2 separate regions of the Homo sapiens genome follow, and region 1 is linked to region 2. The links are contacts of gene promoters, found by promoter capture Hi-C in blood cells and fetal thymus (Javierre and others, 2016). All regions are on one chromosome and are shown on one strand. Each heading gives the region's core, a stretch centred on a gene start or on the middle of the fragment in contact. The rest is flanking DNA. Distances are from core to core; before and after follow the strand shown. Region 1 holds the start of MAB21L4 (mab-21 like 4). Region 2 holds the start of MTERF4 (mitochondrial transcription termination factor 4).

Region 1 (4,433 bases), core at 227-2,726, 210 kb before region 2:
CTGTAATCCCAGCTACTCAGGATTCTGAGGCAGGAGAATCGCTTGAACCCAGGAGGCGGAGTGAGCCAAGATCGTGCCATTGCACTCCAGCCTGGGTGACAGAGTGAGACTCAGTCTCACAAACAAACAAACAAAAGGCCCCAGAGGAGAGACTGAGGCCAGCCCCTGGTCCACGCAGAAGCCCAGCCTCAGAGCCCACTTGGGGCTCAAGACACCAATAGACAACTCAGCCATAAGCTGATAAGACACGGGCACACACCTGCACACGCATTCACACCCCTGCACTCACGCGCACGCAGGCAGGCACACACACACCCCTCCCACCTGGTGCAACATCATCAGACACTGGAAGTGGGCACGGGATGGCCTCGGGGAGCCTCGAGGTCACAGGCTGTGACTGGCAAGAGAGCCGCCTGCCCAGAGCCGTGTGAGGGACCCTCCTGCAAGGCCACCAGTGAAGCAGCTGCCCCAGACTCCAGCCACTGGACGACTGGCAGCCGTGGAACCCCCGTGCAAACACACACGACACGGAACACGTCATCTGTCTTGTTACAGGCATTTGGAGCTGGAAGACCTAAGTGAGGTCTCCCGACTTCTGTGCCCCAACACACTGTTCACACTTGCACAGTGTCACACACGTGCACACATGCCTGTGCGTGCAGTCACACACAGAAGACAGTCGCCACCCTGTGTGCACGTACATGGCAATCACACACATGTGCACTCACACACTTGCACACAGACACCCACACAGCAGCCCCTCGGTACACGCAGATACGCGTGCAGAGTGGGCTGTGCCTGTACCTGGTGCGATGAGACTGTGGTGCTTGCAGTGTACGATGGCTGCTACCAGCAGGTCCTTGAGGACACACAGGACCTTGCTGGGCACAATGTGTCCACGGCACTTGGCGTCACCCTCCGAGGAGGCAGTGAAGGTATCCTCGGTGGTCCACCGCTCCAGGCCAGCCCCTTCCCTGGGCACACCCAGGTGGCATAATTCAAGGCCATCCTCCGGCTGGGTGGCCTCTGGTTCCTCAATCAGTAGAGCCTCGGCATCCACCCACAGGGGCACCTCCATGTCCATTGGGTCCTCAGAGGAGCGCAGGGCGAACTGGAAGGCCTCCAGGCCACGGGAGTAGTCCACGATGAAGCGGGGGTCCAGGGCATGCACGCGCTCCAGCACCGTGAGCAGCACGTTCTCTGCGCGCTGGAAGTCCTGGGCACGCGGCGCCTCCCGGGACCGGATGGCCTGCAGGTAGTGGTGCCACAGGGGCACCTGCACGGCCATGGCTGAGGTGGGGAGAGCAGGGGCAGGCATCCCTTCAACAGTGGCAGGTGAGGGCCAGTGGCCCCTGAGGAGGACTCCGCAGGCCAGCTGTGCAGATGGGCTGTGAGGAGGCACCTGCCCAGGTGAGCAGCAGGTCTGCAGGTGGGGCCTCAGCTCCCACACAGCAGAATTCCAGAGTGACAGCACAGTGTGGCAGGTGAAATAGCTGAACTATTTAAGGCCTTTGAAGTGGGGGTGAGTCAGTCCCCAGCAATTGGGAATGTCACAGGGGCCATGCAGGGCAGGCGGGGGCTGGGTTTGGTTACCACCCTCCTCCCTCCCTTCAGAAGAGCTCTCTCATCTTAGGCCCAAGGCACGGCCCCTGTCCCAGCCAGGCTTGGGGTCCCTGGAGAAATATTGCCGCTGGACTGTGCCGTCCCTGGGATGGGAGCCTCTGTGTGTTGCTGATGGGCCTCCTTCCACCCTCCTCCCCACAGCCCAGGGGCCGGGTATCTGGATCAGGCCCCCCTGCCCCAGCCTCCCTGCCAGGTTGGAGGGAACACAAGGCACCCCGTGGCTCAGTGAGGAAGGGGAGGCAGGGCGGTGGCTGCCCAGACCCCGCTGTGGGGGAGCCCCCGACTCTCTAAGGCTGCCTGGAAGGCTGGGAACCTGGAGGCTGCGTCTCTGCAATGTTCCCCTCAGACACCTGTGCCCGGCTTACAGGCTGCAGTCCTGGCATGGCTCCTGCCTCTGCCCCAGCTGTGCATCCAGCCATCTGGGCCCTGGACCCCTGGGCTACCAGTCCCCACCCCACCCCACCCCACCCTGCCCAGCCTCCAACCTGAGAGGAGCTGGCACCCACCTAGCCTGGGAGCTGGAGCTCGTCTGGTTCTGGAGAAAAGCAGTCTCCGTGGCTCCACCTCACCCAGGTGGAGAAACTCGCCCCACCATCCCCCTCCAGCACCTGCACCAGGTACCCTGCCAGCCCCGCCCCCCTCCCCTGCTCAGGGCCGTGCAAGTCCCAACCAGCAGGGAGCCGCCCCATCGACCCTTGGCCCTGCCAGCTGGCCGAGTGCATCGGGTGCTCAGCCACAGGGGTGTCTGCAAACAGTGAACATGGAGATGGCCCCACAGGGGCGTCGTGGAGATGCTGCCCCTGTAGCCACCGCACGTGGGCCTCTCACCCCCCGGGGAGCTGCATCTGAGTCAGAGCTGTGGGCAGAACCAGGATCCCAGGAGGGGTGGGGCAGGGGGCAACAGCCACTCACTTCCTGGTGCTTGGAAGCCCCTATGAGGGGCTGCAGCCCAGTGAGCGGGTCTCTGCTTCCATGCCTCCCAGGACAGGGAGCTCACCACCTCACAGGGTAGCCCACGGTCAAGCGAGAGACAGATATCCCTCCTCCAAGCTGGCCCACTCCTGTTCCCTGGAGTTGCTTAGAGCACGTGTCCCCCTCCCCGAGGGCAGCCATTCAGGTTCAAGGCCCCATTTGTCCTGGGCCCTCACCCACGGCCTGCCTAGGTCCCCACACACAGCCGTGTGCCACACTCCTCCATCTCCACAGGACTCTGGCCTGGGGGAGGTGGACGCTGCTGCAGGGCAGCTGGGGTCCTACCCCTCACCCTCGGCCGCAGTGGCCCAGGGAGCTCATCTGCCTGTTCTGGGCCTTGGCTTCAACATCTGTGATTTGATGACACCTTCAGTGTCCCAGCTCCTCCTTCCCAGGAACCTCCCGGTGTTCTGAATTCGCCCAGGAGACCCCCAACCACACCCCAATCTACCCAAAGTGCCCAGGGGCTCTGAGCCATGGGAGGGGCTCGGCTTCTCAGCCCCCAAGCTGCTCCCTCCAGTGGCCACAGAGCAGGGCCCTTCTCCCTCGGGAGCGGCCCCCAGGCTTTGCATCCTCCTTTGCCCCTAAAGCCCCCTCTCCACTGCTGTCAACACCAAGAGCACAAGACCATGTCCCCCCTTTCCTCTCTTCAGCAGGGGATTCCACCTGGCTGACACCCTGTCCTGTCCTTCGCTGGCTCTGGCCTCCTGGCTCCCACCAGTTCCTGAGCTGAATCCAGCTGGTTGCCCCAAGGGACCCCACTCTCTCCACCTGTGCCCCAGCTGAGGTCAGAGCCTCTGATGGGCCAGGCCCCATCCTTGCCCCTTGGCCCTTCTGGCAGGTGGTGAATGACATGGTGAGCTCCCTATGGCTGGAACGGTGTCACACTCCTCAGTGTACCCTAGAGCCAGGCACGATGCCAGGCACACAGGAGCATGTGGAGTACACCAGGGAACTGTGGACAAGCAAAGGTCCCCGGGAAGCTGGACCTGTGGGAGAGAGAGGAGAGCCGCTGCTGACGGAGGGGATGCGGGCACCCGCCCTGGACGGCTGGGCAGCTTTGACCACAAAGGGGCCAAGTGCTCCAGAGGCCTTCAGGCAGCCACTAGCCACAGTGCACCCAGGACTCCAACTCTGACCCCAGGAGGGTAGCGTGGTGAGGGTGGGGAGGGTCAGAGAAACCAGACGTGTCCTGGGGCCTTGGCAACTCAAGAAGGGGTTCCTTGGCACCTGTGGCAACCGCAAATGCTCAGATGGGTGTTGATTCAGTCTCTCAGTAGAGCTCAGGGCCAGAGCACGGATCCTGTATTTCAGGAAGTCCCGGATGTGCTGGGAAAGGCGGGGTGGGAAGCAGACATTCCGGCCTGAACAGAGTCCCAGGGCTGAACCTAGGGAAGCAACAGGGGCACACCCTGAGCCGTGGGGGCTCCACGCAGCTGCAGCCCACAGCAGGGGCATGTTTCCAGGGGTGCGACAGACCACGGCGGAGGTAAAATGACAGAAGTGAATTCTCACAGCTCTGGAGGCAGACGTCCAAGAGCATGGTGTTGTGTGGCTGGGCTCCCTCCGGAGGCTCCAGGGAAGCGCAGCTCCCACCTCTCCCAGCTCCAGTGCAGCCGCGTTCCTTGGCCACGTCTCTCCATCTCCGTCCTCACGTGGCCCTCTCCTGTGGGCAGCTGTGCTATCTCTTTCTGCTTCTCTTACAAGGACACTGGGGAGACCATTTAGGGCCACCAGGCCGTCCCAGATGATCTCATCCCATAGGCCTCCCACAGTTCAGTCTGTTACCACGTAAGATCTCAATTCACCCACGGTTCAGTCTGTTACCGTGTAAGGCC
Region 2 (4,737 bases), core at 1-2,500:
ATGGAAGACAATTTTTCCACAGACTGGTGAGGGGTTTCAGGATGATTCAAGCATATTACATTTGTTGTGCACTTTATTTCTGTTATTTTCACGTTGTAATATAAGATGAAATAATTATACAACTCACCATAATGTAGAATCACTGGGAGCCCTGAGCTTGTTTTCCTACAACCAGGAGGTGCCATCTGGGGTTGATGGGAAACAGTGACAGATCATCGGGCATCAGATTCTCATAAGGAGCGCAACCTGGACCCCTCAAAGGCGCAGTTCACAATAGGGTTCGCGCTCCAGTGAGAATCTAAGGCGGCTGGTCTGACAGGAGGCGGAGCTCAGGCGGTAATGCCAGCGAAGGGAGCGGCTGTAAATACAGTCTGGCTGGCTCACTTGCCGCTCACCTCCTGCTGTGCAGCCTGGTTCCTAATAGGCAAGGGACGGTACCGGGGGTTGGGGAACCCCTGCTCTAAAACCTTCACATCGGTCCCAACCCCTTCTCCAGCGTCATCGATTGTCGCCCTGGGGCCACCCTGCCAAGCCCAAGCTCTGGCTGCTCTCCAGCCTCCCCTGTCCAGATGCTCCCTCCGCCAGGAACACCTGGCAGTCGCTGGGGTCAGCGGGCGCGGCCCGTGGAACTGGGCTCAAGCCTAAAGACCTCTATGCTGATTCCGCTTCCTCTTAATGAAAAGTACATGTTATCTTCCTTGTGAAGTTCAAACTCTTGTTCAACAGTCAACTCAGGCCGGGCGCGGTGGCTCACGCCTGTAATCCCAGCACTTTGGGAGTTCGAGGCGGGTGGATCACCTGAGGCCAGAAGTTACAGACCAGACTGGCCAACACGGTGAAACCCCGTCTCTACTAAAAATACAAAAATTAGCCAGGCATGGTGGCGGGCGCCTGTAATCCCAGCTACTTGGGAGGCTGAAGCAGTAGAATTGCTTGAACCCGGGAGGCGGAGGTTGCAGTGAGCCGAGATCGCGCCATTGCACTCCAGCCTGGAGACAGAGCGAGACTTTGTCTCAAAAAAAAAAAATGTCAACTCTATATCCCACAATAATTGAGCAGAGCCACGGGTCCAGGATGCCAAAACCAGGTCAGCGTGCACGGACCTCCGGGAGGGCTCCACGACCTGGCCGTGAAACACTCGGCGGCCGCGGTTCCTCTGCGTCGCTGCCCGCCCGCCTGCGACCCGGAGAAGCCCGCGCGCCCAGCTCGAGCTTACCTGACGGCCGAACGCAGCCATAGCGCGGAGAAGATGGCAGCAGTTACGGCGCCGGAAGCAGCGGTCCTCCCCCGTCCTTCACTTCCGGCCCCCGGTCCGTCACCGACGCCGTTCCCAGCGCCAGCGCGGTGTGGTGGATCGTGATTCCGGCCCGGAGCTGTGCTGAGCGTTCACGGCCCCGCGGGGCTCAGGTGTCCCGGGGCCGCCCCTTAGAAAGCCGGAAGGCCGGAGTCGCGCCCGTCACCGTGCCGCCGCCTCTGCCGCGGCCTCAGCCTTCGGGGGCCTCGGTGTCCGGTTGTTCCCGTTGCACTGCCGTGTCCCGTTTCGCAGAGCTCTGGGCCGCGTGAACGAATGGGTCGTCCTGGCCCATACTTGTGTTTCAGATGACCTGAGAATTCCTCTCAAGAGTACAGGTAGAGGGGAACTGGTTCCTTGCTTCGGGAACTTCACCCGAGAGCGCAGAAATCCTTCCCGAGGCAGGAAAAATGGATTCCGTTCCATGTAGAGATATTTAAGATTTTATTGTGTAAAAATCTGTATTCAGCGTGAACACCGGGGCCACCTACGCACAAAAAGAAGTCTTTACCGCTTTTCTTTCTTTTTACTCTCAGCCAGTGGAAGATGAGAATTTGCCGTTTTTAAAAGACCCAAGTAAAATGACAGGAATTACGGCACATTTCCCTTTATAAGCAAGAGCCTTCCCAACTTCGAGGTCTGGTTCCCTCTTAGGATGAAATATAGTAAAGTTTTAGCCCAATGTGTATTCATTCTTAAATTTCCTCTCTCGACCTAAGAGCGTAGGCATCTTTCACAAGGTGATGCTTGTGAAGAATAAAAAGGTGTGCTTTCTCAGCTGCCTAAATCCTGCCACCAAAGCCTTAATTTATAAGCATTTCTTGTTTTATCTACTTCATTCTGGACTGACATAAAGGATTTGATTCTTGCATGGGCACACATTTACATATCTGCTTTGCGCCAGGCATGGAGTGGGGTGCCAAACAATTTATGTAAAACTGTCTTTTGACAAAAGGATTATGTCAAAGAAAAGGAAGGTTCTAATCCGTGTAGAAACTAAAGAATTGGTTGCTTTGGCAGAGTGCAGTGGCCCACGCCTGTAATCCCAGCACTGTGAGAGGCTGAGGTGGGGGGGATTGCCTGGGCTCAGGAGTTCAAGACCAACCTGAGCAACATAGGAAAATCCTGTCTCTACAAAAAATAAAAAATTAGCCGGGAGTAGTGGCGTGCACCTGTAGTCCCAGCTACTCAGGAGCCTGAAGTGGGAGGATCACTTGAGTCCAGGAGGTTGAGGCTGCAGTGAGCCATGATTGCACCACTGCACTCCAGCCTGCGTAACAGAGCAAGACCTTGTCTCAAAAAACAAAAGGAAAAAAAAAATTGGTTGCCTTTGTTGTTTTTTATAATGTAATTTTCTTCTCAAAATACTCAACTGTCAACATCTCACAATAAATTGTGTTAATGCTACACCAAAAGCCTAAGAAAATCCCATGAGCCACCCCAACTCCCTGGAAAGAATCAAGGAACCTGAACAGTTTGTCTAGCTCTAGAAATAAAATGACAGCTGGGACATGGGGATTACTATGAAAAATTGACATGAGCCCGGGTGTGGTGGCTCACGCCTGTAATCCCAGCACTTTGGGAGGCCGAGGTGGGCAGATCACCTGAGGTCAGGGGTTTGAGACCAGCCTGGAAAACATGGTGAAACCCCATCTCTACTAAAAATACAAAAATTAGCCAGGCATGGTGGTGGGCACCTGTAGTGTCAGCTACTCAGGAGGCTGAGGCAGGAGAATCACTTGAACCTGGGAGGCGGAGGTTGCAGTGAGCCAAGATCACGCCATTGTACTGCAGCCTGGGCAACAAAAGCGAAAGTACTTCTCAAAAAAAAAAAAAAAAAATTTGACATCACCTTCAGTCTTGTGTGAAAACTTTGCTCTCTCGAACCATACTTTAAAAATATGCAGTGGGTTGGGCACGGTGGCTCATGCTTGTAATCCCAGCACTTTGAGAGGCTGAGATGGGTGGATCACCTGAGGTCAGGAGTTCGAGACCAGCCTGGCCAATATAGTGAAACCCTGCCTCTACTAAAAATACAAAAATTAGCCAGGTAACGTGATAACGCACACTTGTAATCCCAGCTACTCGGGAGGCTGAGGCAGGAGAATTGCTTGAACCCAGGGAACGGAGGTTGCAGTGAGCCGAGATTGCACCATTGCACTCCAGCCTGGGTGACAGAGCAAGATTCCATCTTAAAAAAAAAAAAAAAAATGGAGTGGAAAAATTGTCAGCCTCAGCCTCAGAACTTTCCTCTCTGGGTTCTTTCTGCAAAGAACGTTTGCAAAATACCAGACCTTCCACTGCCATGAAGTCAGATGAGCTTTAATTATTTTTTCTTATAAAGAAGTAACAGTTCTTAGAAAGCTCAGACTATGCATTCTCAACCCATTAAACACCTGTCTGCAAACACCATTGTGGCCGAACGCAGTGGCTCATGCCTGTAATCCCAACATTTTGGGAGGCCGAGGCGGGCGGATCATGAGGTCAGGAGTTTGAGACCAGCCTGGCCAACATAGTGAAACCTCGTCTCTACTAAAAATACAAAAATTTAGCCAGGCGTGGTGGTGGGCACCTGTAATCCCAGCTACTTGGGAGGCTGAGGCAGAATTGCTTGAACCTGGGAGGCGGAGGTTGCAGTGAGCTGAGATCGCACCATTGCACTCCAGCCCAGGCGACAGTATAAGACTCTGTCTCTAAATAAATAAACAAACAAACAAACACCATTCTATAACATCCTCTGTGTTATAAGCACCATAAACACTACAAGGTAGGGGTTCTTAAAACATCAGAAAACTCTTTGAATTCTGAAGAGTGAACATCACTGACTTTAATACACACCTGTAAAACCCTTGTACCTTGAATGTCCCTGATAGAGGAGGGTCCTCCCCCACCAACTCCATCAGTCACTTGTGGTGGCAGCGAGGCTCAGGCAGCACTTTCTGAAGAAAGGGATGGCAATAGCCCATATCCTACTAGATGGGACTAAAATTAACTCTGATCATCCCAAAACAGTTGAGTGCCTCCTAAATAACCACTAGAAATAGCTCAGAACCACGCAGGAGGCAGCCTGGCTCCCAGGCAGCTTCCAGAGGGTTCTGGGCAGGAGTCTCAGAATGTGGAAAAACCGTCTGCAAGTGATGACATGTGGGAAAAGGGTAGGGGTTTAGGTTTTTGGTTTTTTTCCTACTGTCTCAGCAGGGGAAAAAAATGAAAGGTTCTGCTCTCACCTCTAGCTATTCCCTCCTCTCTAACACAGACATGAAATAAAACAATCCTAAGTACTTGACCTAGCCAAGTCTGTCTGAGGGGGATGGACTGGAGTCTAAGGGAGGGAAGCAGCCAGTTGAGTATCTGACAAACACCCTGGAACCTGAGCAGCTCGGAGGAATACAGGGCTGGAGCCCCTCACACAGACCAGAGGTGGGGGCTGGGCCAGGAAGCCCCTC

Evidence for each region. The method cuts DNA at HindIII sites, captures the fragments that hold promoters and counts their contacts. A CHiCAGO score of 5 or more calls a contact.
Region 1: the fragment with the promoter of MAB21L4 here is called in contact with the fragment with the promoter of MTERF4 in region 2 in 4 of 17 cell types (M2 macrophages, endothelial precursors, M0 macrophages and 1 more); the score reaches 9.3 in M2 macrophages.

The regions. Positions count from the first base shown.
Region 1 is chr2:240,894,680-240,899,112 of GRCh38, forward strand. It overlaps MAB21L4 (mab-21 like 4), which reads right to left and starts at 1,477. Exons shown (of 5, transcript NM_001085437.3): 1 at 805-1,477. The coding sequence starts at 1,318. RefSeq lists enhancers at 105-740, 2,013-2,648. The HindIII fragment of the contact is 9,523 bases long and covers 1-4,433 here.
Region 2 is chr2:241,101,037-241,105,773 of GRCh38, forward strand. MTERF4 (mitochondrial transcription termination factor 4) reads right to left here and starts at 1,251. Exons shown (of 4, transcript NM_182501.4): 1 at 1,217-1,251. The coding sequence starts at 1,237. RefSeq lists enhancers at 498-1,037, 1,038-1,577. The HindIII fragment of the contact is 6,512 bases long and covers 1-4,737 here.